Linked DNA regions of Homo sapiens: all the other regions are linked to region 4. Evidence: promoter capture Hi-C in 16 types of primary human blood cells and fetal thymus (Javierre and others, 2016). All regions are on one chromosome and are shown on one strand. Each heading gives the region's core, a stretch centred on a gene start or on the middle of the fragment in contact. The rest is flanking DNA. Distances are from core to core; before and after follow the strand shown. Region 1 overlaps RNF103-CHMP3 (RNF103-CHMP3 readthrough). Region 2 has its middle 7.6 kb from the start of GNLY. Region 3 holds the start of CHMP3 (charged multivesicular body protein 3). Region 4 holds the start of IMMT (inner membrane mitochondrial protein). Region 5 has its middle 51 kb from the start of MIR6071. Region 6 overlaps RNF103-CHMP3 (RNF103-CHMP3 readthrough). Region 7 has its middle 10 kb from the start of ATOH8.

The links. The method cuts DNA at HindIII sites, captures the fragments that hold promoters and counts their contacts. A CHiCAGO score of 5 or more calls a contact.
Region 1: a fragment that was not itself captured here is called in contact with the fragment with the promoter of IMMT in region 4 in 1 of 17 cell types (naive CD4 T cells); the score reaches 5.3 in naive CD4 T cells.
Region 2: a fragment that was not itself captured here is called in contact with the fragment with the promoter of IMMT in region 4 in 1 of 17 cell types (M2 macrophages); the score reaches 5.2 in M2 macrophages.
Region 3: a contact is called between the fragment with the promoter of CHMP3 here and the fragment with the promoter of IMMT in region 4, in 17 of 17 cell types (total CD4 T cells, non-activated CD4 T cells, erythroblasts and 14 more). The highest score is 20.2, in total CD4 T cells.
Region 5: a contact is called between a fragment that was not itself captured here and the fragment with the promoter of IMMT in region 4, in 1 of 17 cell types (fetal thymus). The highest score is 5.0, in fetal thymus.
Region 6: a contact is called between a fragment that was not itself captured here and the fragment with the promoter of IMMT in region 4, in 1 of 17 cell types (naive CD4 T cells). The highest score is 5.1, in naive CD4 T cells.
Region 7: a contact is called between a fragment that was not itself captured here and the fragment with the promoter of IMMT in region 4, in 1 of 17 cell types (fetal thymus). The highest score is 5.4, in fetal thymus.

Annotation. Positions count from the first base shown.
Region 1 is chr2:86,524,736-86,528,302 of GRCh38, forward strand. All of the region lies in intron 5 of RNF103-CHMP3 (RNF103-CHMP3 readthrough), which reads right to left. All of the region lies in intron 3 of CHMP3 (charged multivesicular body protein 3), which reads right to left. Among named protein-coding and RNA genes, the nearest start is that of CHMP3-AS1, 36 kb to the right of the region's middle. The HindIII fragment of the contact is 977 bases long and covers 1,713-2,689 here.
Region 2 is chr2:85,700,095-85,703,758 of GRCh38, forward strand. No RefSeq gene overlaps it. Among named protein-coding and RNA genes, the nearest start is that of GNLY, 7.6 kb to the left of the region's middle. The HindIII fragment of the contact is 5,566 bases long and covers 1-3,664 here.
Region 3 is chr2:86,561,900-86,565,598 of GRCh38, forward strand. CHMP3 (charged multivesicular body protein 3) reads right to left here and starts at 1,544. Exons shown (of 6, transcript NM_016079.4): 1 at 1,405-1,544. The coding sequence starts at 1,449. All of the region lies in intron 3 of RNF103-CHMP3 (RNF103-CHMP3 readthrough), which reads right to left. CHMP3-AS1 (CHMP3 and RNF103 antisense RNA 1) reads left to right here and starts at 171. Exons shown (of 6, transcript NR_183901.1): 1 at 171-348; 2 at 947-1,021; 3 at 1,369-1,500; 4 at 1,789-1,883; 5 at 2,078-2,241. RefSeq lists enhancers at 970-1,139, 1,150-1,249, 1,407-1,701, 1,860-1,919. The HindIII fragment of the contact is 23,374 bases long and covers 1-3,699 here.
Region 4 is chr2:86,194,099-86,197,558 of GRCh38, forward strand. It overlaps IMMT (inner membrane mitochondrial protein), which reads right to left and starts at 1,364. Exons shown (of 15, transcript NM_006839.3): 1 at 1,240-1,364. The coding sequence starts at 1,284. RefSeq lists enhancers at 865-914, 1,035-1,214, 1,235-1,354. The HindIII fragment of the contact is 5,542 bases long and covers 362-3,460 here.
Region 5 is chr2:85,832,519-85,835,949 of GRCh38, forward strand. No RefSeq gene overlaps it. Among named protein-coding and RNA genes, the nearest start is that of MIR6071, 51 kb to the left of the region's middle. The HindIII fragment of the contact is 8,623 bases long and covers 1-3,431 here.
Region 6 is chr2:86,617,428-86,620,988 of GRCh38, forward strand. It overlaps RNF103-CHMP3 (RNF103-CHMP3 readthrough), which reads right to left. Exons shown (of 8, transcript NM_001198954.1): 3 at 2,903-3,042. The coding sequence starts at 3,034. It overlaps RNF103 (ring finger protein 103), which reads right to left. Exons shown (of 4, transcript NM_005667.4): 2 at 2,903-3,042. CHMP3-AS1 (CHMP3 and RNF103 antisense RNA 1) reads left to right here. Exons shown (of 6, transcript NR_183901.1): 6 at 1-22. Among named protein-coding and RNA genes, the nearest start is that of RNF103, 4.7 kb to the right of the region's middle. The HindIII fragment of the contact is 653 bases long and covers 1,418-2,070 here.
Region 7 is chr2:85,741,923-85,745,596 of GRCh38, forward strand. No RefSeq gene overlaps it. Among named protein-coding and RNA genes, the nearest start is that of ATOH8, 10 kb to the right of the region's middle. The HindIII fragment of the contact is 1,868 bases long and covers 494-2,361 here.

The DNA of each region.
Region 1 (3,567 bases), core at 951-3,450, 330 kb after region 4:
GGGATGAATATAAATTCAGTAAAATCAGCCAAGAGTTGACAATTGTTTAAGCTGGGTGATAGGTACATAGAGATTCATTTGGGTATTCACTCTGCTTTTGTATATGCTTAATATTTCCATAATAAGAAGTTAAAGAGAAAACAATACAGGATGATTCAAACAATCCAACTTCTCTCCTCAGAAGTGAACCTTTTTCAGACCTCTGTTTATCCATTTATCATTTATTTACACAACTACACAAACACATCCTCTACTTATTTACAGAGTGCTATCATGCTATATATACTGTTCTGCAACTTGCTTTCTTATTAAATGATGCATCATTAACATCTTTCTGTAGCTGAATACTATGCTGAAACCTAAATAAATCATAATTTACTGATTCAGTCCTCCACTGAAGAAAAATAAAATGTTAGCAGTTCCCCTGTTACCAATAACTTTCTGTTGTTGGCTTTAATTATGTGTATTTTACTAATTGGGTAAAAATTCCCAATGCCTATAATTGTACAATTATAAAACTATTTCAAAAACAAAATTAAATACAAAAAACTTCAAAATCAATAAAATTCACATTAACAACGTAAATTTCATGTGATACTTTGCTGAACTAAAACACCACTTATAATGTGGGTTACGCTACAGGTAAAATACTTGATAACTATGCATATATATACTGTTCTCATCTATCTGTCTGGTGACTCCTTTCCCGCTTTTCTCCATTAAGACTACTGAGGTTGCAGTGAGCCGAGATGGCACCACTGCACTCCAGCCTGGGCGACAGTGCGAGATCTTGTCTCAAAAAAAAAAAAAAAAACTACTTAAAATCCTTGCATCAGATGGGATTCCCTCGGCAAGGACATTTACACAGTAAGTTGGGTTTTGCTCTTTTCACACTGGATTGCCACAGTGAAATTTGACACCAAACCTCATAAACAAAAATGCAAATGGGGGATTCAAGTCTCATGAAACTCATCAATTATAAGGTAACCCAGAGTATACATATGTTTAATTTTTTAATGATGCCAAAAATTAAAATAAAAAAAAATTCTCATAGTAGAAAGACTGGAAGAAGACAAAGTGGTGGGAGAAGGAAAATCAAGATTTTTTTATATCAATTTTGAGATACCCCTTGAGACATCTGAGTGGAGATGCCAATTACGCACTTAGAGATAAAGTCAGCCCTGAAGATAAAACTCAATGGCATTTAAAGGCATGGGGTTAGATAAGATCGACTACTGGGAGTAAAGATGGAAAGGAGCAGAGGATCTAGAATAGAGCCCTCGAGCACCTTAACATTCAGAGGCCAAAGAGCAAATACTTTACTTTTCAATTCTGGTAAAGCTACAGTATATATGAAATGAACAACTTAACATATTGTTATGGGTGTACATTTAAACGATAGGCTCTTATGTGCAGTGCACAGGGAAGCTTTTGTTATGTATACTGCTGAAAGTGTATGATAAAAGAGTTTTTGCATGCAGACTAATGATTACTTACTATGACGATAACTGGCTGAAAAGGTATTTTGGAATCAGGACACAGGAAGAAAGGGCAAAGAAAAGAGAATGCTCGAGTTTAGTAGCTCTGAGAGAACTATTAACACAAGATAACATTTCTCAAAAATAAAAAAGTCTGACAATACCAAGTCAAAAAGGTGAAAAGGTATGGAAAAAAAGAACTCATGAACTGCTGCTGGAAATATAAATTAGTAAAGCTTCTTTGGAGAGCAATTTTGTAATTCTAGCAAAATTTAAACCCAGCTACTTACTTAGCAATTCTACTTCTGAGTATACAACTGTCCTAAACCTTTACACACAGCAAAAACTGAAAATAACCTTAATATCCATCAAAAGGGGAACAGAAAAATAAAATGTGATACATCAATGTAATTTCATCTAGTAGTTCAAATCAATGGACTAGAGCATGCTCTCTCTCTCTCTCTCTCTCTATATATATATACACATACACATAGATAATTTTATTGTGGTTGCTGTTGTTTTGTTTTGTCTTGTTTTATAGAGACAGGGTTTCATTATGTTTCCCAGGCTGGTTTTGAACTCCTGGCTCAAGTGATCCTCCTGCCACAGCCTCCCAAAGGGCTGGCATTACAGGTATGAGCCACTGCACCCTGCCTACATTTATCCACATGAACATATTTCAAAAACGATGATAAATGGAGCAAAAAGACGCAGAATGGTATCTATAGTATGATACCATTCATAAAAATTTTAAGATTCATGATAGTGGCTTTCTCTGGAGAGGTTGGGAGAGAAGAGAATGAAACTGGGAAGGTGTATTAAAGGAGCTTCAACTTTTGTAATAATGCTTTTTTTATATATATATAATATAGAAGCAGGCAAATACAACAAAACGTTAAATTGTATTAGTTCTGGGCCAGGTGCAGCGGCTCACAACTATAATCCCAGCACTTTGGAAGACTGAGGCAGTGGATCACTTGAGCTCAGCAGTTCAAGACCATCCTGGGCAACATGGTAAAACCCCGTCTCTACCAAAAAAAAAAAAGATAAATTTTATTAGTTCTGTATAATAGGTACATAAAGACTTATTACATTATCCTCTGCTTTCATCTCTACAATTGGAAAAAAAAGAGGCTGTGCATACACTGCTTTATTCATAGAGGGAAAAAGGCAAAATAAGCAATAAGGAAAGAGTGAAAAATGTTTAAACAAGCTTATCATGGTCAACTGAACATGTGTCTTTTGAGCATGTTGCAGGAAAAATTGAGAATCAATCTGAATTTTTCAAGCTGGCTATAAAAGACAATAATACTTGAGCTTTCAACATGACAGGATTAAACTATTTCTTTATGGCACTGATACTCAGTTTGATCAAAAGGCATATCTAGGTGATATATCCAGTATTTCAAGAGCCTAAAATCATCATTTTAGGGCTGTAATAACATGGCATTTAAAAGTGAAGATAGGCCGGAAGTGGTGGCTCATGCCTGTAATCCCAGCACTTTGCAGAGCCGAGGAAGGTAGATCACCTGAGGTCAGGAGTTTGAGACCAGCCTGGGTAACATGGCGAAACCCCGTCTCTACTAAAAATACAAAAATTAGCTGGGAGTAGTGGTGGGCACCTGTAATCCCAGCTACTTGGGAGGGTGAGGCGGGCGAATCGCTTGAGCCTGGGAGGCGCAGATTGCATTTAGCCGAGATCACACCACTGCACTCCAGCCTGGGTGACAGAGAAAGACTCTATCTCAAAAAAACAAAAATAAATAAATAAAAGATAATCTTGATAGATTTTTTAAAGGATGATGTGGTACAAACATTTTGTCATTTTTTTTTTACTCTTTCCCAGCCCATGATTATTCTCTTCAGTATCTCGAGAAAGAAACTAATGATACATTCATGGTTAGGCATATTTTAAAACCACATTCGAATGTTAAAATTGAATGTGAAGAAAATACCTTCAGAACGAAATACAACCAAATAATGCATTAGAAACCCATTTGGCACCATCCTATAAATTAAAACACTTCATCTTCTAACTTCTTTTGAGTGTGATCAATGAAGTATCTGACAGAGAGTTGAAAATATTCTT
Region 2 (3,664 bases), core at 889-3,388, 490 kb before region 4:
ATGATCTTAGCTCACTGTAGCCTCAAACTCCTGGCCTCAAGGGATACTTCCACCTAGGCCTCCAGAGTAGCTGGGACTACAGGTGTGCAGAACTGCGCCTGGCTCACTAATTTGATATTAATTAATACATTCCATTATTAGTTAACCTGACAGTGGAGAAGCCTGTCAGCTGATGAAAGTTACTCCCACCTCCCATGGGGCAAGTCAATATCATGGGCCTCATAATATAATGCTCTGAGAGAAATATAATACTACTTTTCCATTGTTCCTGCCGAAATGCAAAAATCATGAGGAAACATCAGAGCAACTCAAACTGACATTTTACAAAATACTTAGCATATCCTTTTTTTAAAAATTTTTTAAAAATTTTTTATTTTAGACTGAGTCTGGCTCTGTCACCCAGGCTGGAGTGCAGTGGCACGATCTGGGCTCACTGCAATCTCCGCCTCCTGGGTTCAAGTGATTCTCCTGCCTCAGCCTCTGAAGTAGCTTGGGATTACAGGTATGTATCACCACAGCTGGCTAATTTTGTATTTTTTATTAGAGAAGGGGTTTCACCATGTTGGCCAGGCTGGTCTCAAACTCCTGACCTCAAGTAATCTGCCTGCCTTGGCCTCTCAAAGTGCTGGGATTACAGGCGGGAGCCACTGCACTCTAGCCTGTCCTCTTCAAAAATGCCAAGGTCTTGAAAGACAAGTAAAGATTGAAGAACTGTTCCAGATAGAAGGAAACTAAAGAGACATGACAACAAATTGCGACACATGATCCTGATTTGGATCCAGACCTATAAAGAACATAATTGGGGCAATTTATAAAATGTGACTGGAATCTGTGATGGTAATATTCTGTTAATGTTAATTCCTGATTTTGATGGTTGTACTATGGTTATGTACGGCAGTGTCCTTGTTAGAAAATATACACTAAGGTATTCAAAGAGTAATAGGTCATCATATCTGCAATTACAATTTCTGAAATGATTCAGAAAAAAAGGGAATACATACGCAAAGAATGAGTGTGATAAGGTATATACCACATACATGCAATGTGGTAAGGTGTTAACAGTGGAGAATCCTGTTTAAGGGTAAATAGGGGCTCCTGTTTACACTGGGAGGTTTGGAAGGTGTAATCTCCAAACTCCATGGCAAGTTGCAAGAATGCAACTTTCAAACTTCATGTTGAAATGTGATCCCTGGCCGGGCACAGTGGCTCATGCCTGTAATCCCAGCATTTTGGGAGTCCTAGGTGGGTGGATCACCTGAGGTTGGGAGTTCAAGACCAGCCTTACCAACATGCAGAAACCCCATCGCTACTAAAAATACAAAGTTAGCCAGGCGTGGCGGCACATGCCTGTAATCCCAGCTACTCGGGAGGCTGAGGCAGGAGAATCACTTGAACCTGGGAGGCCGAGATTGCGCCATTGCGCTCCAGCCTGGGCAATGAGGACGAAACTCCATCTCAAAAAAAAAAAAAAAAAGACATGTGATCCCCAATATTGGAGGTGGGACCTAGTGGGAGGTGTATGAGTCAGGGAGGAGGATCCCTCATGAATGGCTTGGTGCCATTCTTGTGGTAATGAGTGAGTTCTTGCTCTATTAGTTTCTGTGAGAGCTGCTTGTTAAACCTCCTCTCTCTCTTTTTTCTCACTATGTGATCTCTGCACACACTTGCTCCCTTTCTCTTCTGCCATAAGTGGAAACACCTTTTTATTGAGACGGAGTCTCGCTCAGTCCCCCAGGCTGGAGTGCAGTGGCTGCTGCAACCTCTACCTCCCAGGTTCCTGGGTCCAAGTGATTCCCCTGCTGTTGAGACTATTATCATGAAGAGATGTTAAATTTTGTCAAATGATAGTTCTGTGCTATTGAGAGGATCATGTGTTTTTCATTTTTAATTTTACTGATATGATGAATTTTATTACTTGACTTTTGGTTGCTGATTTGCCTTGCATTTCTGGATAAATCTTACCTGGTCATGGTATATAATTGTTTTTATGTGTTGCAGGATTCAGCCTGCTAGAATTTTTTTTGAAAATTTTTGTATCCATATTCAAAAGAGATATTGGTCTGTAGTTTTTTTTTTTCTTTTGATGTTTTCATCTGGTTTCACCTGGTTTTGGCATCAGGGCATCCTCTTCTAGTTTTTGGAAGAGTTTCTGAAGAATTGGTATTAATTCTTTAAATATTTGGTAGAATTCACCAATGAAGACATCTGGCTTGGTATTTTCTTTGTGAGTCATTGTTTTGATGACTAATTCAACCTATTTATTATAGGTCTATTCAGATTTTCTGTTACTCTTGCATCAGTTTCAGTCATTTGTGTCTTTGTAGGAATGTGCCCATTTCATTCTAAGTTGTCTAATGCATTAGCATAATTAATTAGCATAATAGTATAATCCTTTTTCTCTCTGTAAGGTCAGTTGTAATTTCCCCTCCTTCATTTCTGATTCTAGTAATTTGCAGCATCTCTCTTTTTATTGTGGTCAATCTAACTAAAGACTTGCTTTTTCAAAGAACCAACTTTTGATTTCATCTCGTATTCTCAAATATTGTTTCTAGTCTCCATTTTAATAATTTCCACATTTCCACTCTAATTTTTTAAGTATCTCTTTTTTTCTGCTTGCTTTAGGTTTAATTTGCTCTTCTTTCTCATGTCTTTTTTTTTTTTCCATTGTAACCTTGAACTCCTGGGCTCAAGCAATCTTCCTGCCTCAGACTCCCAAGTAGCTAGGACTACAGGCACAGGCCACCATGCTCAGCTAATTTACTTTTCTTTTTTTTAGAGATAGATCTCGCTATGTTGCCCAGGCTGGGTTTGAACTCCTGGCATCAAATGATCTTCCTGCGTTGGCCTCTCAAAGTGCTGAGACTACAGATGTGAGCCACTGCACCCAGCCTTTTTCCATTGTCTTAAAATGGGATTTCTGAGACGAAGATTTCAAATCTTCCTCTTTTTCATTATAGGCATTTACAGCTACAAATTTCCCTTTTGGCACAGCTTAAGCTACAACCCGTAAGTTTTGGTGTGCTGTGGTTTCATTTTCTTTCACCTCAAGGTATTTTCTAATTTCCCTCTTGATTTTTCCTTTAATCCATTGGTTATTTAGGAGTGTGTTGTTTAATTTTCACATATTTGTGAGTTCCCCAAATTTGTTTCTGTTACTGATTATTAGTTTTATTCTGTTGTGGTCAGGGAACATATTTTGTATTCTTTCTATCCTTTTTAATTTATTGACGTTTGTTTTATGGGCTACCACATAGTCTATCCTGGAGGTGTGTTTCCCCACTGCTATCTGGACTCATCTGCACTCCACTGTTTCTGATGAGGAGGCACCTGTTAATAATTGGGGGTTCCCTTGTAAGTGATGAATTGTTTTTCTTTTGCTGCTGTCAAGATTTTCTCCCTGTATTTGGCTTTCAGCTTTTCTTTCTGTCTCTCTCTCTTTCTTTCTCCCCTTCCTTCTTCCTTTCCTTCCTTCCTTCCTTTTCTTTCTTTCTTTCCTTCCTTCCCTCCCTCCCTCCCTCCCTCCCACCTTCCTTCCTTCCTTCCTTCCTTCCTTTCTTCCTTCCTTTCTTCCTTCCTTCCTTCCTTCAACAGAGTCTTGCTCAGTCACCCAGGCTGGAGTGCAGTGGCACCATCTCAGCTCACTGCAACCTCCACCTCCTGGGTT
Region 3 (3,699 bases), core at 294-2,793, 370 kb after region 4:
TACGAATGGCAATGCCAAGGCCAAACACTGAAGACAACAAATAATCTCTCCCTACCACACTTCTACAATAACAAGAATCTTAGAATATACAGATGTCACAAAATGTGCATCTATATAATGTTCTATAGTTTCCAAAGTGATGTTATACCGTTATTTCATTTAAGCGCCACAATTTTTATTTTACCAAGGAGCAAAACTGAGTAAGTTTCCTGACGAAAATAATGAGTGTCTACTGTTCTAGGGCCTTTAACAACAACAACAACAAATTTACATTAACGCACATTATGTGCCAGGAATTGCAAGATGCATAAGATTAGTTTTTAAAATGTGCCTGCTAGAGCTGAACAGGTAAGATCATTTATTAAAGGATTTCAGGATTTTTTTTTTCCATTATGGACAAGCCTAGGTGTTGCAGAGCAGTGCTTCTCAAAGCACTGATGTGCACACTAATCATTAGGGAGCTTGTCAGAATTCAAAATCTGACTCAGTGGGTCTGGAGTGGTGTCCGAGATTTAACAAGCTCCCAGGTGATGTTGATGCTGCTGGTTGGCATTTGAGTAGCAAAGCTGTGCCGTATTTAAAGAATTAGCCCTAACTACCAATATGAAAACTTTACATCCCTGAATCTTCAATTACTCTGAGGTGACACTACTATTATTCTGGCTTCACAGTCGAGAAGGCACTGAGAAGTGAACTTTCCAGAGATCACAGAGCTGAGATGTGGGAAGGCAGGATTCAAACTTAGGTTGACTGACTGCAGGGCATTTTCAACTGTTTGCCTCCCAATATTATCTCAATTAATAGGTAACGAGAGTTCGAAGCCGGGTCCAGAGCTATCTTCTGTAACATTCTTCTGGGTCGAGTCCCTGCCCCGCTACGGTATGTGCCTAGGGTCAACACAAGGGCTGGGGAAAGAGGAAACTGAGCCTCTTTTTCAACACAACAGGGAGGACGGAGAACAGACGGCTCCTCCGGCAGACGCGACCCGGCCCGCTCCAAACAACGCTTCGGGCAGGAGAAGGTTCTCCGGGTGGTCCGCAGCCGGGCTGGAGGGGTGGGGCCTACGCTGGGAAAAGGTTCCGGGCGGGTCGTACCAACGCGCGCAGGGGGAAGAGGTTTCCGAGGCCAGGACGGTGTCGCTGCCTACGCGCTCAGTGGCGAGGTGGAGAAACTCTTCATCCACCCTCGGCTACCTGTTCGAGAGCCATGGCACCAGGAGCTCTCGCGTCCCACAGCCGACTCCTAAAGACTCTTCCTCCGGCCCCCCTGTCGAGTGGGAGTCCCCGGAAATGGGGGCCGGGCGGTATCGGGCAGGCGGTGGGGAGAAGAGTGTCCTGTCATTTACCAACTTCACTACGCCCCACACAGATCCACCCGCTTATCTGCCGCCGCCGTAGCCCTTACCAGTTCTTTGGGCGGCTTCTCCTGGGTCTTTCCAAACAGCCCCATGACGAACTGAACCCGTCTTGCCCCTTCCGGCTTTCAGTTCCCCGCGCCCAGGCAGGTCACGGGCAGCCGCCTGGGCGGGGCCCGCGGAAAAGGAGGTAGTCCCAACCCCCAGAGTAGGGAGCGGCGGCACTAGGGGATGTTGCGCATGCGCCATACGCCTGCGCAGAATCGAGTGAGTGGGAGACTAGTCAAAAAGGCTGACGTCATCGCACATGTTCTGGTCATGTCTGTGTGGGGGAGACCACGGATTCGGTGCTTTTCGTAAGGTGTAGAAATGATTGCTCTGAAAGATACGAATTTGTTGGCTACAACTGCTTCTAATACTTCACCTAAACCTAGATGTTGCACCAGAAGTCTGGATCTCCACGCAGACGTGTACACTTAGCATCACTTTCCCGACAGCTTCATCTTTGTGTCCAGTAGGCAACTCACAGGTGACAAACCAAAAATAACCTCTTTTTCCTCCCGCCAACCCACTCCTCCCCTCTGCTTGCACCACCATCACCTGGTCACTAAACCCTAGGCATCGTCCTCTCTCCCCTCTTACCAAGTCCCAACCATTCTAACTTCAATATGTCTGAACTTCAACCCTCCCCTTTCCATCCCAACTGCGGTCGTTTTTTTTCAGGCCATCGCCCTTTCCAGCGTGGGCGATTCCTGCCTAGCATTTGTCCATGTGTGTCCCGTCCTACACGCCACACTGACCGTGAGCTTAATCACACTCTCAAAGGAATCTGACTAAAGAGAACTAGACACATTTTAGCACGGACAGTTCCTGATTAGGCCTATACGGTGAGCTGATGGTTACTGTCATTAACTCATCCGAGGATGGTGAAGGGGACCATTTGTTACCTCAGCCCCATACTCCTGTCTCTGGTGGAATCATAAAATGGTTCGGCAGCTTTGAAAACATTTTGACAATTTCTTAAAATGCTAAACAAAGCCAGCCTTCCATTCCTAGCTATTTACCCAAGAGGGAAAAAAGCATATGTTCTTACAAAGACTTGTACACAAATGTTCATAGCAGCTCTATTTGTAATAGCCATAAACTGGAAACAATCCAAATGTCTATCAACAAGTGAATGGATAAACCAGTCGTGATTGATCCATACGAAGGAATAGTACTGAGCAATAAAAAAGTAAACTATTGATAAATGCAACAGCATGGATGAATCTCAAAATAATTCTGCCAAGTGAAAGAAGCCAGAACCGTATGATTCCATTTACATAACATTCTGGAAAATGCAAACTAATACATAGTGACAGAGAGTACATGGGCGGTTGCTAGCGGATAGGAGTGGGGTCAGAAAGAGGCAGAAAAGAGGGATTACAAAGAGACACGAAGTTTAGGGGGATGATGGATAATATCTTGATTGTGATGATGGTTTCACAGATGTATACAATATCAAAACTTACCAGGTTGGACACTAAGTATGTGCGATTTATTTTATGTCCAATCATACTTCAATAAAGTTGTTTTTAAAAAAGCACTGCCTGTTCATTGTGAAAAGTTAAACCCTCATTCTCACTTCCTCAGGGGAAAAGGTCTCAAAGGATTCACACCAACTATTAAATATAGTGTGAATCTTCTGAAACCTTTTCCTTTGGAAAATATACTTTTATTTTTATTTATGTATTTGTTTTTGAGACCGGGTATCACTTTGTCACCCAGGCTGGAGTGCAGTGGCAGGATCTTGCCTCACTGCAGCCTCTACCTCCCAGATTCAAGTGATCCTCCCACCTTAGCCTCCTGAGTAGCTGGGTGTCAGCCACCACGCCCACTGTGTTTTTAATTTTTCTGTAGAGACAAGGGTTAGCCATGTTGCCCAGGCGGGTCTCAAACTCCTGGGCTCAAGCGATCCTCCCACCTCAGCCTCTCAAAGTGTTGGGATTACAGGTGTTAGCCACCTTGCCCGGGCCTATTTTTACTTAGTTGAGATTATATTATATACATTGAGCCACCTCTCCCAGCCCTATTTTTATTTAATTGATATTATGTTATATACGTTGTCCTACAATTTCCTTTTAAACACATTTTATGTAGACTTTCATCAGTGTCAATACCTATGGCAGTCCATAGCAAGAATGTACCATAATTTATTTAACCATTTCCCTATTATATAAGATTGTTTCTAGTTTTTCCCTAGTAAATAATCCTGCAAATATAGGCACAGTTAAAAATTTTAAACTTAATACCAGTATCTTCCATATACATTGCACTATTGTGAACTCCTACCAATAGTGTATACC
Region 4 (3,460 bases), core at 114-2,613:
GTGGCTGGCAAGAGGCAGCAAGAAAAGAAGTACTTCAGTCCTGTAACTGCAAGGGACTGAATTCTGCCAACAAACTGCATGAGCCTGGAAGAGGACCCTGATCTCCAAATGAGAACCACAGCATGGCTAATACTTTGCAGCCTTATGTGACCTGGAGCGGAGAACACAGATCATCCGTGCCCAGACTTCTATCCTACAGAACCCGTAAGGTCATTCATGGGTGTTGTTTTAAGCTGCTAAATTTGTGGTATTTGTTACGCAGCAATAGAAAACTAACACAGGTTCGTTCCACTTTCCTATGGAAGGGGCTGCTTCTGTTACCTAGCAGCAAATAGGAAGAGAAGCGAACTTGAAAAAACAAAGCTTGACTTTTATGATCTCTAACTCACTATTCCTAGGGATTCTGTTCAATTACTGCTTGAGTCACAGTACTTGGTTTGCTATCTACATTTTGCCAAAATATCAACTTCCTGAAAATCATGAGCAGTGGAAACAGGCTTTTTAATTTTCAATTTTAGAAAGTAACTTTGGCAATTACGCAAAACTAGAAGTAACTGGGTATTTAGGCTCCTTGAATGTCAAAGTAGTCCCAGCGCCTGGAGACACAGATCCCTGCCCTAATCTCAGAAATGAGCCACAAGGTCATGACTCCTGTCTTTCCTTGAAGACCAGGAGTTTCAGCTCCACAAATGAAAATCTTTCGCTTTTGTTTGGATTAAGAATAACTCAGAAGTGTTCTCAGCTGCGAAAAGAAAGGCACTCCCTCCCAGATAATTACAACCTTGACCCCTAAAATGTGGACTCTCGCTAGAAGTCCAGGCACCTCCTTATTAAGGATGCAACAAGCCGCCGCTCCGCTCGTCCTGACGGGAACTGTAGTTCTCGCCCGTCGACCTTCAGCACTGAAAACCTATCGCGCGCCCAACCGGCGACCCAGACGCCAGCAGCCAGGATTGGTCCTGGACGGGGGCAGCGCGGCCCTGATTGGACTACATGCCCACGAAGCCGCGCCTCCCGCTACTCTCCACACCCCACCCCGCTGCTGCAATAACCTCAAGTCATCCCAGTCCGGCGAACTCCCTGGTGGCTGCCTAGCTGCCCGCCCGGGCCTCTCCCGACGAGGGTGGCCCTGAGGCTCGCCTTTGTCCTGGAGGCTAGGCAGCGACCAAGGCTCCCCCGTTTTTCGCTGACGGTTCTAGTTCAGCCTCCTCACGCGCCTCCGGGAGCCCCAGTGCTCACCTGGGCGGCGGCGGTCACACCCGATAACTGACAGGCCCGCAGCATCTCGGTCAAGCGGACGGCGCTGCTGGTGGACTCGAGCTGCCGCGGCGGCGCGAGTTAAGTGGAGGCGTGCTTGCGTGTGTGCGTGCCCGCGTCCGCGCCCGGCGCACCGGAAGCACAGCGGACGCCACTGCGCACGCGCGGCCCCTTCTACCGTCCCCGACTCCGCGGCTCTTAGAGGGTGGGCTGTGTCCCGGCTGCGGAAACGCCAACTCCAGGCGATTGGCGCGAAGGAGGCGAAAAGGGCGGATTCCCTTTCCGGGTCGCGCCCGGGCTGCAGGTCCTTATCCGGAAGGGGTTACTAGGTGAACACTGCCGGAGGGAGAGCGCTCTGAAATCCATTCTTCAGCCGCACGTGGAAAATGGACAGCTGTGACTCTTAAAGAGAATTAAAGCAACAAAGCATCTCAGCCTGCTCTATGAGCTGGATATTTCGTAGGAAGGAGCCGATTTGGCGAAAGTTACGTAAACAATGGAATTGTCTCAGTTTGCGCCTTTGTTTCGTTTGACAGCCCTCCAGGGAGTCATAGTGATTGCTGGAGACGGTGAACTAACACTGTGGGGACCCTTGTGCTAAACGTGTCAAGTGGCACAACAAGGATAGGAACACGGGTCCTTTGGACTCCACAGCTTCTGCTCCTTCCAGATTAAGCCACACTGCTTTCTCCAAGTTGTTACTGTAGTAACATCATTTTGGCTGCAGTTTGTGGATGGGTTGGAAGATGGGAAGTCAATGCAGAAGCACCGTTGAAAGTATTCCACTGGGCAGGGCGCGGTGGCTCACGCTTGTAATCCCAGTACTTCGGGAGGCCGAAGCGGGAGGATCGCTTGAGCCCAGAGGTTCGATACCAGGCTGGGCAACACAGTGAGACCTCGTCTCTATATAGAAAAATAAACAAACAAAAAATTTAAAAAGAAAAGTAGGGCCAGGAGCTATGACTCACGCCTGTAATCCCAGCACTTTGGGAGGCCAAGGCGGGTGGATCGCCTGAGGTCAGGAATTCGAGACCAGCCTGGCCAAAATAGTGAAACCCCGTCTTTACTAAAAATACAAAAAATTAGCTGGGCATGGTGGCGGGTGCCTGTAATCCCAGCTACTCGGGAGGCTGAGGCAGGAGAATTGCTTGAGCCCGGGAGGCGGAGGTTGCAGTGAGCCGAGATCACGCCATTGCACTCCAGCCTGGGCAACAAGAGCGAAACTCTGTCTCAAAAAACAAAAGTATTCCATTGATTCTGTAATCAAAATAAAACACGTTAAATATTAAGCATGGTATTAATACTCCATGTATACTCCAGAATTAATATGTTCGTATTAATACTATTAGCATCTTATTGCAATATCGTGGAAACTAACTTTTCTATCTTCTATTGGATTTGCAAAGTATTCCAAGTCTTAACTGGGTAATTTATTACAATATGTATTCTCTCTAGAGGTAGACTGCGCTATGACTTGTAGCATGGAGAGATGGACTTGAAAATTATCTGAAAGCAATAGTTATGTTTGTATATGTTCTATGTTCTATGGTTTTTAGGGGACTACAGTAATTACATATGTTTCATATCTCTTTCACTTAGCTTCCAGAGCAGTCTCCCGTTTTCTTTAGTAATTTTAGCAATTGAATTGCTGCCTCCCTGCCCACTGCTGTCATGCCCAGTGGTGCCGGTGTGATGACTTTTCTAACACCCTTGTCTTTGAACTTCTTAATGCCAGTGAACGCTTTCATCCTGCTTCAGTCATGTGGTGCCCGTGTGATGACTTTTCTAACACCCTTGGCTTTGAATTTGTCAATGCCAGTGAATGTTTTCATCCTGCTTCAGTCATGTACGTCACAGCCACAACTTGCGCCTGAACATCATTAGCAACCTCTCTAGCTTCAAGATCTCAAACCTCAAAATTAGCCTCCCAACCCCTCATAACCTACGTGGAGAGTCCTCACTCTCCACTTGGAAGTTGTCAATATTTTTGCTTTAAAATGTTATCAGGCAGGCCAGGCGCTGTGGCTCACACCTGTAATCCCAGCACTTTGGGAGGCTGACGCGGGCGGATCACCTGAGGTCAGGAATTCGAGACCAGCCTGGCCAACATGGTGAAACCCCGTCTCTACTAAAAATACAAAAATTAGCTAGGCTTGGTGGTGCGCGCCTGTAATCCCAGCTATGTGGGAAGCTGAAGAAGGAG
Region 5 (3,431 bases), core at 183-2,682, 360 kb before region 4:
AACTCACTAATGTGCAAAAAGAAAATATTTGAAGGTTTAAAACCCACTGGTAAAATTAAATACATGGATAAACCCAGTATTACTTTAATACTGTAATTGTGGTATATAATCCACATCATAACTATGGTATACAAATCTATCTATCTAGTATAAAGCCCCAAATACAAATCTATCAAAAACAATAATAGTTATAGCAACCTATTAAGAGATAGGGAATATCGGCCAGGTGTGGTGGCTCACGCCTGTAATCGCAGCACTTTGGGAGGCCGAGGTGGGCAGATTACGAGATCAGGAGATCGAGACCATCCTGGCTAACATGGTGAAACCCCATCTCTACTAAAAATCCCAAAAATTAGCTGGGCGTGGTGGCAGGCACCTGTAGTCCCAGCTACTTAGGAGGCTGAGCCAGAAGAATGGTGAGAACCCAGGAGTTGGAGCTTGCAGTGAGCCAAGATTGCACCACTGCACTCTGGCCTGGGTGACAGAGCAAGACTCTGTCTCAAAAAAAAAAATTAAAAAAAAAAAGGGAGATAGGGAATATAAAGATATATAAATTGAGATAATATAAAGCCAAAATGTGGGGAGGATGAAGTTAAAGTGTAGAGGTTTTTTCAGTTTTTTGTTTTTACATTTTTCTTTGTTTCTATTTTCTGTGTGATCTATGCTGCCATCTCTTTAAAATAACTTGTTGTATCTGTAAGATTTTTTTGGTAAGCCTGATGGTAACCACAATGCAAAAATCTATAATAGATTCACTAAAAATAAAAAGCAATGCGTTAAAACATACTATCAGAGAAAATCACTTACCACAAAGGAAGACAGTAAGAAAGGAAGAGAGGAGTTACAAAACAACCAGAAAACAAGCAACAAAATGGCAGTAGTAAGTCCTTACCTATCAACAAAAACACTGAATGTAAATGGACTCAGTTCTCCAATTAAAAGACATAGAATGGCTAAATGGATAAAGAAATAAGACCTGACTATATGCTGCCTACAAGAAGATCATTTCACTTCTAACGTGAAGGGATGGAAAAAGATATTCTATGTAATTGGAAACCAAAAAAGAGCAGGAGTAAGTAGCTGATATAAGTAAGTACTTACATCAGATAAAACAGACTACAGATCAAAGACTGTAAAAAGAGACAAAGAAGATCACTAATGATAAAGGGAATAATTCAGCAGGAGGAAATATGTATCAATATCTATGTACTGAACAACAGAGCTCTCAAGTATATAATGCGAACATTAACAAATCTAAAGGGAGAGATAGACTGCAATACAATAATAGTAGGGGACTTCAACATGCTACTATATGTGATGGACAGGTCATCCAGACAGAAAATCAAGAAACACTGGAGTTAAACTACACACCAGATCAAATTAGGCCTGACACTTACAGAACATTTTACCCAACTGCTGCAGAATACACATTTTCTTCATCAGCACATGGAACATTCTCCAAAACAGACTGTATATTAGGCCACAAAACAAGTCTCAACAAATGCAAAAAAGTAGAAATCATATCAAGTATATTTTCTGATCACAATGGAATAAAACTAGAAATAACAAGGGGGGCCTTGGGAAATACACAAACACATGGAAATTAACACACTCCTGAATGACCTAGGGCCAATAAGGAAATTAAGAAAATTTTAAAAATTTCTGGAAACAAATGAAAATGGAAAATGACATATCAAAATGTGTAGAATACAACAAAAATAGTACTAAGAGGGAATTTTATAGCAATAAATGCCTGTAACAAAAAAGTAGAAAGACTTCAAATAAACAACCTAATGATGTACCTCAAAAAACTAGAAAAGAACAAACTAAACTCAAAATTAGAAGAAAAGATATAAAATTCAGAGCAGCAATAAATGGAGACTAAAAAATAAAGAAAATCAATGAAATGAAAAGGTTTTTTTTTTTTGGCAAAAACTAAATTGACAAACCTTTAGCTAGATTAACTAAGAGAGAAGACTCAAATAAATAAAATTGTAAATGAAACAGGAGACATAACAACTGATGCCACAGACATACAAAAAATCATTAGAAGCTGTTATGAACAACTACATGCCAACAAGTTGGAAAACCTAGAACAAATGGGCAAATTCCTGGACACATACAACCTACCAAGATTGAAACCATGAAGAAATAGAAAATTTCAACAAACCACTAATGAGTCATGAGATTGAAGCCATAATAAAATGTCTCCCATCAAAGAAAAGTCTAGGACCTGATTGCATTATTGCTGAATTCTACCAAACATTTAAAGAAGAATGATGACCAATTCCATTCAAATGCTTCATAAAAATTGAAGAGAAGGGAATATTTCCAAACTCATTCTATAAGGCTTGCATTACCCTGATACCAAACCAGACAAAGACACAACCAAAAAAGAGAACTATAGGCCAATATCACTGATGAACATAGATGCAAAAATCCTCAAAAAAATACTAGCAAATGGAATTCAACAACACATTAAAAAGATAATTCATCATGATCAAATAGGATTCATCCTAGGGATGCAAGGATGGTTCAACATACAAATCAATAAACACAATATATCGCATTAAGAGAACCAAGAACAAGAACGATATGATTATTTCAATAGATGCTGAAAAAGCATTCAATAAATTAAACATGCCTTTATAAGAAAAAAACCTTCAACAAACTAGGTATAGAAGAAACATACTTCAAAATAATAAAGGTCATTAGCTATGAAAAACTCCTAGCTAATATAATACTGATAGGGAAAAACTGAAACCCTTTTCTTTAAAATCCGGAACCAGACAAAGATGCCCACTTTCACCACTTTTATTTGACCTACTACTCGAAGTTTCAGGGCAATAAGGCAAGAGAAAGAAATAAAGGGCATCAAAGAAAGAAGTTTAAATTAGTCTTGTTTGCAGATGACATGATATTATACTTAGAAAAACCTAAAGACTCCACCAAACAACTGTTGGAACTGATAAGTGAATTCAGTAAAGTTGCAGCATTCAAAATCAACATACAAAAATCAATAGCATTTACATATCCCAAGAACAACAATCTGAAAAAGAAATCAAGAAATCAATTTCATTTATGGTAGCTACAAAGAATACAAAATACCTAGGAATCAATTTAACCAAAGATGTGAAAGATCTATCCAAAGACAACTATAAAACACTAATGAAAGAAACTGAAGAGGGCACCCCAAAATGGAAAGATATTTCACGCTCATGGACCCGATGACATTCTTCACAGAAATAGAAAAAATAATTCCAAAATTTACATGGAACCACAAAAGACCCCAAATAGCCAAAGCAATCCTGAGCAAAAAGAACAAAGCTATAGGAATCACACTACCTGACTTCAAAATATACTACAAAGCTATAGTAACCAAAACATCATGGTACTGGCATGCAAAGACATCAGACCAATGGAACAGAATA
Region 6 (3,561 bases), core at 494-2,993, 420 kb after region 4:
ATGTTATTTCAGTATACTGTTATAATTGTTCTATTTTTATTAGTTGTTGTTGTTACTGTGCCTAACTTACACATTAAACTTTATCACAGGTATGTATGTATAGGAAAAAACATAGACTATATAGGATTTGGTACTATCCACGGTTTCAGGCATCCACTGGGGGTCTTGGAACGCATCCCCCTCAGATAAGGGGGGACTACTGTAAACAGAAAATAACAACAATTCAAATTGTTAAAAACAATTCTTGAAAGTTATCCTTTACAATAGATTAATATATATGATCTGAGCTGAAAGAATGGCAAGCAATGGAGACAATATTTCTCTTCTGTTTCTAGTAGATATTTTCAATTTTAAGCATAGTTTTAAAAAGTACAACCCTCTTTTAAGGGCTTAAACCAAGGTGGCTGTGCTGATTGGCTTAGCTGGCTAGTTCACAGTGCCAAGGACAGGGTTTCAATCTCATTCTTCTCAGTTGTCCTGCCAGAGATTGTTCTTTCAGACCAGGCCAGCCATTTGACAGATGTAAGCCACTGGCCTCAAGGAACACAAGCCAGACAGTGGTGGTCAATGCAAACCTTGAGCATCACTGGAAAAATTAAGCAGGTGTCCTACTGCATTATTTCCATACATAGAAAAACCACAGAAATACATTCTATTTTTAAAGAGTTGTTTTTCAACTATTAATACCTATAAGGTTTAAAAATATTTTCAGAGAAAAAAAATTTAGCAACTAGAATTTATAATGCTACCATTTACTATCATTATTTGTCCTTCACTTCATTTGTCACCTTACCAGAGAATTCCTTGCCACTCTCATCTCCTTAATCTGCTTATTTTTCTTCTTACTACTTTCCACTAACTGATGTTATATTAAATATTTATTTATTTGGTGTCTGCCTCTCCCAACTAGAATGTGAGCTGCCTGACAGAGCAAGGCCTTAGCTTGGTGTGTGTTTCTGGTATATCTTCAGGGCCCAGAACAGGGCCTGGCACACCCACAACTGAATAAACTTTTGATGAATTCTGTCACATATTTATTACAGGAGCTTAATTCATGGATATCTTTAACAGGACATCAAAAACAGTAGATCATTTACAAGCCAAGAACATACTGCTAACTATTGAACCAGAATGTATTTGTTGTCTATAGGCAGCAGCCTATATAGCAAAAGAACTCAAGACTTTTGACATAGCCCTTCCAAGTTTCAAAGGTGTGCAACATCTTCACCATTTATTTCCATGGGATCATTCAATGTGGGTGACATTTAGACACTGAAAGCAGGGCAGTGGGACTGGCTATTCAATTCATCCTCAGTAATAAAATCTAAAATTATCAAAACCAGTGTCTTTCTCAATCAGACTATTAGAAATAAGTACCAGAGAAAAGAAACAGAATAACAATATACTTATACATTAAAGCTTTAAAAAAGCTCCACCTTATTTTTCAACTCCAACTGACACAGAAATAAACTAAAATTTAAATAGATAATGTATAGACTACACTCATACTCTCACATTCTCTCCCATTGCTGAACTTAAAAATTACTGAATTAGATTATCCGGAAGGTAAAAGGACAAATGCAATAGGAAGGATACAATAAAGAAAGGCCATGGATGAACAATGTAAATCTCTGGAAGAATTCCCAAACCTCAACCCTTTAGCACAGTGGACTACAGTACCATTTTATCCTTTTTAGATGTATATGTATTTATTTGAGGCCACGTGCAACAGAAAAATATACCTATTTACAATCATACTGCTAGTCAGTGACAGTACCAGACCTGTAACAGCGACAGTACCAGACCTGCAACTAATGTCTCTGAACTCATAGCTTTTCCTACCATATTTTGCAGTCTTTACTCTCAGAAAGAAATATGAAGAAACTGTTTTAATTTTCATGCCCTGAATCAAACTTTGCCCACTCCAGTGTGAAATGATAAGAGTACCAGTCAAGAAATCAGAAGACCTGGGTTTCATCCTGGTTCAATACTACCAACTAGTTCCATGACCTTGGGCAAGCTACTTCACCTCTCAGAGTCTCAGAAAGGGTTAGTCTGATATAATTTCCAAGCTTCAGCCATTCACAGACTACATTAATAATTTTAGCCACATTCACGCTGTTAATTTACTTGATATGTCACTTTGAATGTACAGTTTTAAAATGTAAATAACTTTAGTCCTGTCCTAAGCAAAATTTATGAAATTTATGTTAATATAATTTTTCTAATTTACATTAAAATATGTAAATGATAATGCATGCCCACTCACCATAAATTACATCTTGGAAAGCATAAAATATTTTTAAGGTCCATCATAGCTCTAAAATTCTAATATGCTAATTAAGTCTCACAGTTTTGCTATCATAAAAACAAGGGTTAAAAATTATAATCTCATCATCCTGAGTTACGTAATGAGCACCCCCACCATTTTCCACAACAGCTCCTCTATAGTCACAAAGTTGGCTATTTCCCTAATACAATGATTCCTTTACTTTTACTTTAGGGTTCTTACTTATATATAAAAATTACTCAGGCCACTGAATTAAAAACTGGAGATAATAAAAACTAAGAGAAACAGTGCAAATCACTAAATAAAAGGGATATATATGTGTATTTCTCAATTCAACAAAGGTCCAATAACTAAAATAGATTTGCTTCTGGGGATTCTAAACAAAAAGTTGACCCCCATCCCCCATCTTTCTCTTTCCCACTACTCAATTTTCATCTTCCTCAGTCTCCAAAACCTTTTTAAGAAGATACTGGAGCCTCCCTAAGAGAACTGAGTTATGTGTGAGAAACAAGACACAAGGACACGGAAGTGTCACTGGCTGGTACATACTATTTTGGTAAAAATAATTTTTTTAGGGCTCTCGAATTATCAAATTATTACTGCTTTTCATACCTGAACCAGCCAGATGCCATCTTTTGTGTCTTCCACAAGCTCATAGAAGTGCATTTCACCACTGAAATTGGTACTAGAAACCGATTCGGATGCTTCTTCTTCCTTGAGAGCAGAATAGAGCTCACCCTCCATCAAGTCACCTGAAGAAAGGAAAAGAATAACACTAATAAGGTTGCAAGAATCCTAGATTCCCAATTTCAGTAATTCTATTTTTTACACTGTTAAGAATCATGATATTGTACTTTCATTGTATTTTATAGACAAGAACTACTAGAAGAACCTGGATATACCCACTTAGGAGTCATACATTCAATAAATATGTAGTAAGAACTTCCTATGCATCAGGGAAAAGTGAACAAAATAGACAAAAATCCATCTCTTATAGAACAGGGCTTATATTTTAGTGGGGTTATCACATAATTATTAGGAACTTACCAAATTTGTACCACTCCAAAAAGGCACAACTTTCTTAATTATTTAGTTTTATGAATGACACATACAGGCTTCATATACATTTTTAAACAGTATGGCTTATATGCTTCTTACTTAAAAGATGTAGAATTGGGTTCACAGAATTTGCCATCAGCCCTGCTTAAAAGAGCAACAGGGTTTGTATGACTTGGAGGTTAGAACTTTACCTGTTAGACAGAACAAACTCC
Region 7 (3,674 bases), core at 178-2,677, 450 kb before region 4:
ACACCCGGCCTTTGCCTGACCCCATGGGCAGGCCTGGGCGCCAGCCTTGCCCCCCCTGGCTGGCCCGTCCCCCTGCCGCCTGAGCCTGGGTTATGACATCTTTCCACTGAGCAGCTCTTATTTTGAGAAGGCAAACACGGCGGCGCCCACAGGCATGTGCACACGCCAGCACACGCACACACATACCCTGTCCATCCCCGGACTCCTCGCGCACTGGGGTTAAAATGTGGCTGGCCATGTTTATTTTTCTTCCTCTAATTTCCCCTTTGGAACAAACAACAGTCCTGTAACCCCGATCACCCTCCCCTTTCAGATCTGTGGTCTCCCACCACCCTTCTCCCGGGTCCTCCCCTCGCAGCTGTGAATGAGAACAGAGTAAGTCTTTTAGCGGGAGGCAGCAGCCTGAATGAATTGATCACAGCCTCAAAGCCAGCAGGATGGGGGGATGGTGAGCATGTGTGTTTGCTTCTTAAACGCTATTTGTACACCCTGAAGCTTCTATTTTTCCATGTGACTTGGAGCAAATGCCTTCCCCCAGCCCTCCATCCTTTTAAAATTTATTTCATTTCATTTTTGGTCCAATGCATTTTGTTTTCTGTTTTCTACAAGGGAGCCCGAATCAGGGCCTCAGAAAAACAAGGCCGAGCTGCCAACTGGAAATGTTTGCTCTGGGGGCGAGTTCGGAGGCTGGCGTCAGGCGGGGCAAGATCCGTGCCAGTGGAATGTGATTTGGGGAGGAAGCTGCAGGTCACTCAATCGCTGGCAGCCAGCCCGGGAGCAACTGGATGCTTTCTGGGCTGTGTGTGTGTGTGTGTGTGTGTGTGTGTGTGTGTGTGTGTGTGTATGTAGAGTTTTTTCCCTCATGCAAACAGAGCTCTGGAGACATGGAGACAGAAGCATTAGGAACAAATGAGACAGGGGGTTGGAAAATCAGGGGATCTGGGGGAATAAGGTGGGCTGGGGCGGGGAGAGGGTGCCAGGAGCTTGAGCAGCCATGTTATTCAGCATGTGCTGTGTGTTCAGCTCTGAGCTGGGAGCCTGCAGGAGCAAGGAGGGCTGCAAACCACATCAGCCCCCAGTGATCTGTGGGTTCTTTGGAGAAACAAGGCTTTCAGTATAGAACACTGGCAGGTGAGCCTGGAAGTTCCCAAGAGCGGAGTGTGTTCCTCTGGGCTGAGTGTGTCCAGGGAAGGCTTCCTGAAGGAGGTGTGGTAGGATCAGAGCCCTGAAGCATGTATGGTACTGCACTGAGAGGAGAGGAGAGACGTTCAAGGTGCAGTTATTAGCTGCCATCTGCCAAGCCCTGTGCTCAGCCCTTTACATTGATAATCTCCCTTTAATCCTCACAACAACCCTATGAGGGCCAGTAATCTTTCTATCCTAGCTTTGCAAACAAGGAAACTGAGGCCCGGTGAGATCAAGGAACTCAGCCAAACTCCCAGCTTGTAGGTGGTGAGCCAAGGGTCAATTCGGGACCATCCTTGTCCAAAGCCTGGGCTCTGTCCACCACCGCTGAGGGCCACTTTTCACTTAGCCGAGTTCCTTGTGGAAGGGCTTGTTTTCCCTGCCCCACTCAAAAGAGGATTGTTGAATTCAAGATGGGGAATGTTGGGGACCTAAGATGCCAGGGTAGACTTCCAGGGGGCAGTGTGACAAACGCTCCGAAGCCAGAGAGATAAACTACCTTGTTTCCTTGTTCCCAGGAGGTAGTGGCTGGGCCCCTTGGCAGTCCCCCCAGGGTTCATATCAGGTCAGCCCTCTCCTGCAGCCTACCCCCCTTACCAATGACCCACGCCACCCTCACACTCCCCCACACACCCCCATCACATGTCAAGTTCTTTGCCACCCCAAAGTGAAGGTCCGCCCACTTCCAGGAGTCCTCAGAAGTTATCTGTGTTGTTCTGAGTCACGCACGAAACTCAGTGAACCAGACAGAATGGATTTTCCCCAGGCAGCCACCACAACCCTGGAGTTGGAATCAGGAGACCTGAGCCAACTGAGTGGGGGGCAATTGGTTAAAGTCAACAGTCTACCTCCTGTGTGATATCAAGTGAGCCATGTCCATTCTTGAGCCTCAGTTTCCTCAGTTTTAAAATGAGGAGTGGCCTGAATGGTTTTTGAGCTGTCACAGATGGAAGGAGAGGCTCTAAGGCAGTGGAACTATCTGCAGGTGTTGGAAGGGTCAGTCAGGAAGACTTTCTCGAGGTGTTCAGCCCACTGCAGAAGGATTCTCTGGCAGAGGAAGCAGGATCTGTCACGGGCTCAAAAGGGGAAAGGAAAGAAGCCAGGCTGGAAGGGCAGGAGGAGATGATGGTGAGGGAGGTAGAGTCCTGGCCAGGGTGGCTAGAACACCTTGACTCAAGCTTGTCTGGTAGTAATCAGACGGCCAGTGATCCATCTGATTAGAACAACTTTGTTGACCACTTGGGAGTTCTATTGTCTTGAGCTCAGATAGTTGGTTAGCCTCCCCCATGAACTCTTTTTGGCCAAACTGAGCACTAACGTTAGGTAGACACTGGCTTGGGGCTTACCTGGGCCTGATACATCACCTACATTGGTTGAACTGACCAGTCGATTCCACGAGACAACTAATTTTACCGATTATTTCCAGGAAACAGGCAGTTTATAGCATTAACTAAAATCAGCAGTTGTTCTGGCTTTTTGGAGACAGTCTTTGGATCTGACATCTTCAGTCCTCAGAGACATTCAGGCTACCTGCCACTGACCAACAGTAGTCAGATTCCTGAGAAGGCTGGGAAAAACCCTACCAACAACGGGCGTCAGGACTCAGTCTCTCTCATCAAAAAAAAAAAAAAAAAAAAAAAAAGGCAGGATCGAACTAGACCAGGAGTGGCAAACACATGGTGTGAATCCTGCCACTCCTTTTCTTTCATCCATGGCAGACATTGCTAATCAATTATAGCACTCATTCCCAAAGGGACCCAGATGCAGCCTCAGGATCCTTTTCAACACAGAGCTTCAGGCAGCCTCTACCAATCAATTAGATTTGGCATGCGTGATAAAAAGCATTTGTCCTCTGGACTAGATGATCTCCAAGCCTCCCTCCAGCTGTGCTGATCTAGAATTGCAACTGATTAGGCATCTTGAGGACTCAGCCTGGGGACCACCAGGTCTACAGCTGTCCCTGGGGCATCCAGGTCTGTGGGGCTGCCCTCGAGCTGGTGCCTTATTAATTTTCCTCACTGCTAATAAATGTGCATTGCGTCAGCTCTGTTCTGCCCCCTCATGTTCTCTGGCTGCTGCCATCAGTGGGGACTTTTTCAGAGAGCTGCAAAAATAGTTTTTTGTTGTTGTTGTTTGAGGAGCCTACACAGAAGCAGCAGCCAAGGCTTTTTTGCTTCCTTTCTTTTCTGAGGGAATGGGGAAATGCGGAGGGAAGACCTCACAATGAAGGAATGTGCTCCTTGGGGAACTGAAAGTTGTTTTCCTTAAAGAAGAAGAAGATGAAGAAGAAGTCAGCACACTCTAACTTCACATCTAGCCGCAAAGCACATCTGCAGGGATTGCTAACAGCTCCCAGGAGATCGCTGGCTCAAGCCAAGCCTGGTTAGGCTGTTGACAACTAGGTCCTGATGAGCAGAGCCCTAATGAGCAGCTTGCTCACTGTCTGCCCTCCCGGCTCATCCCTCGTTGATGTTCATTGGGCTCATCGA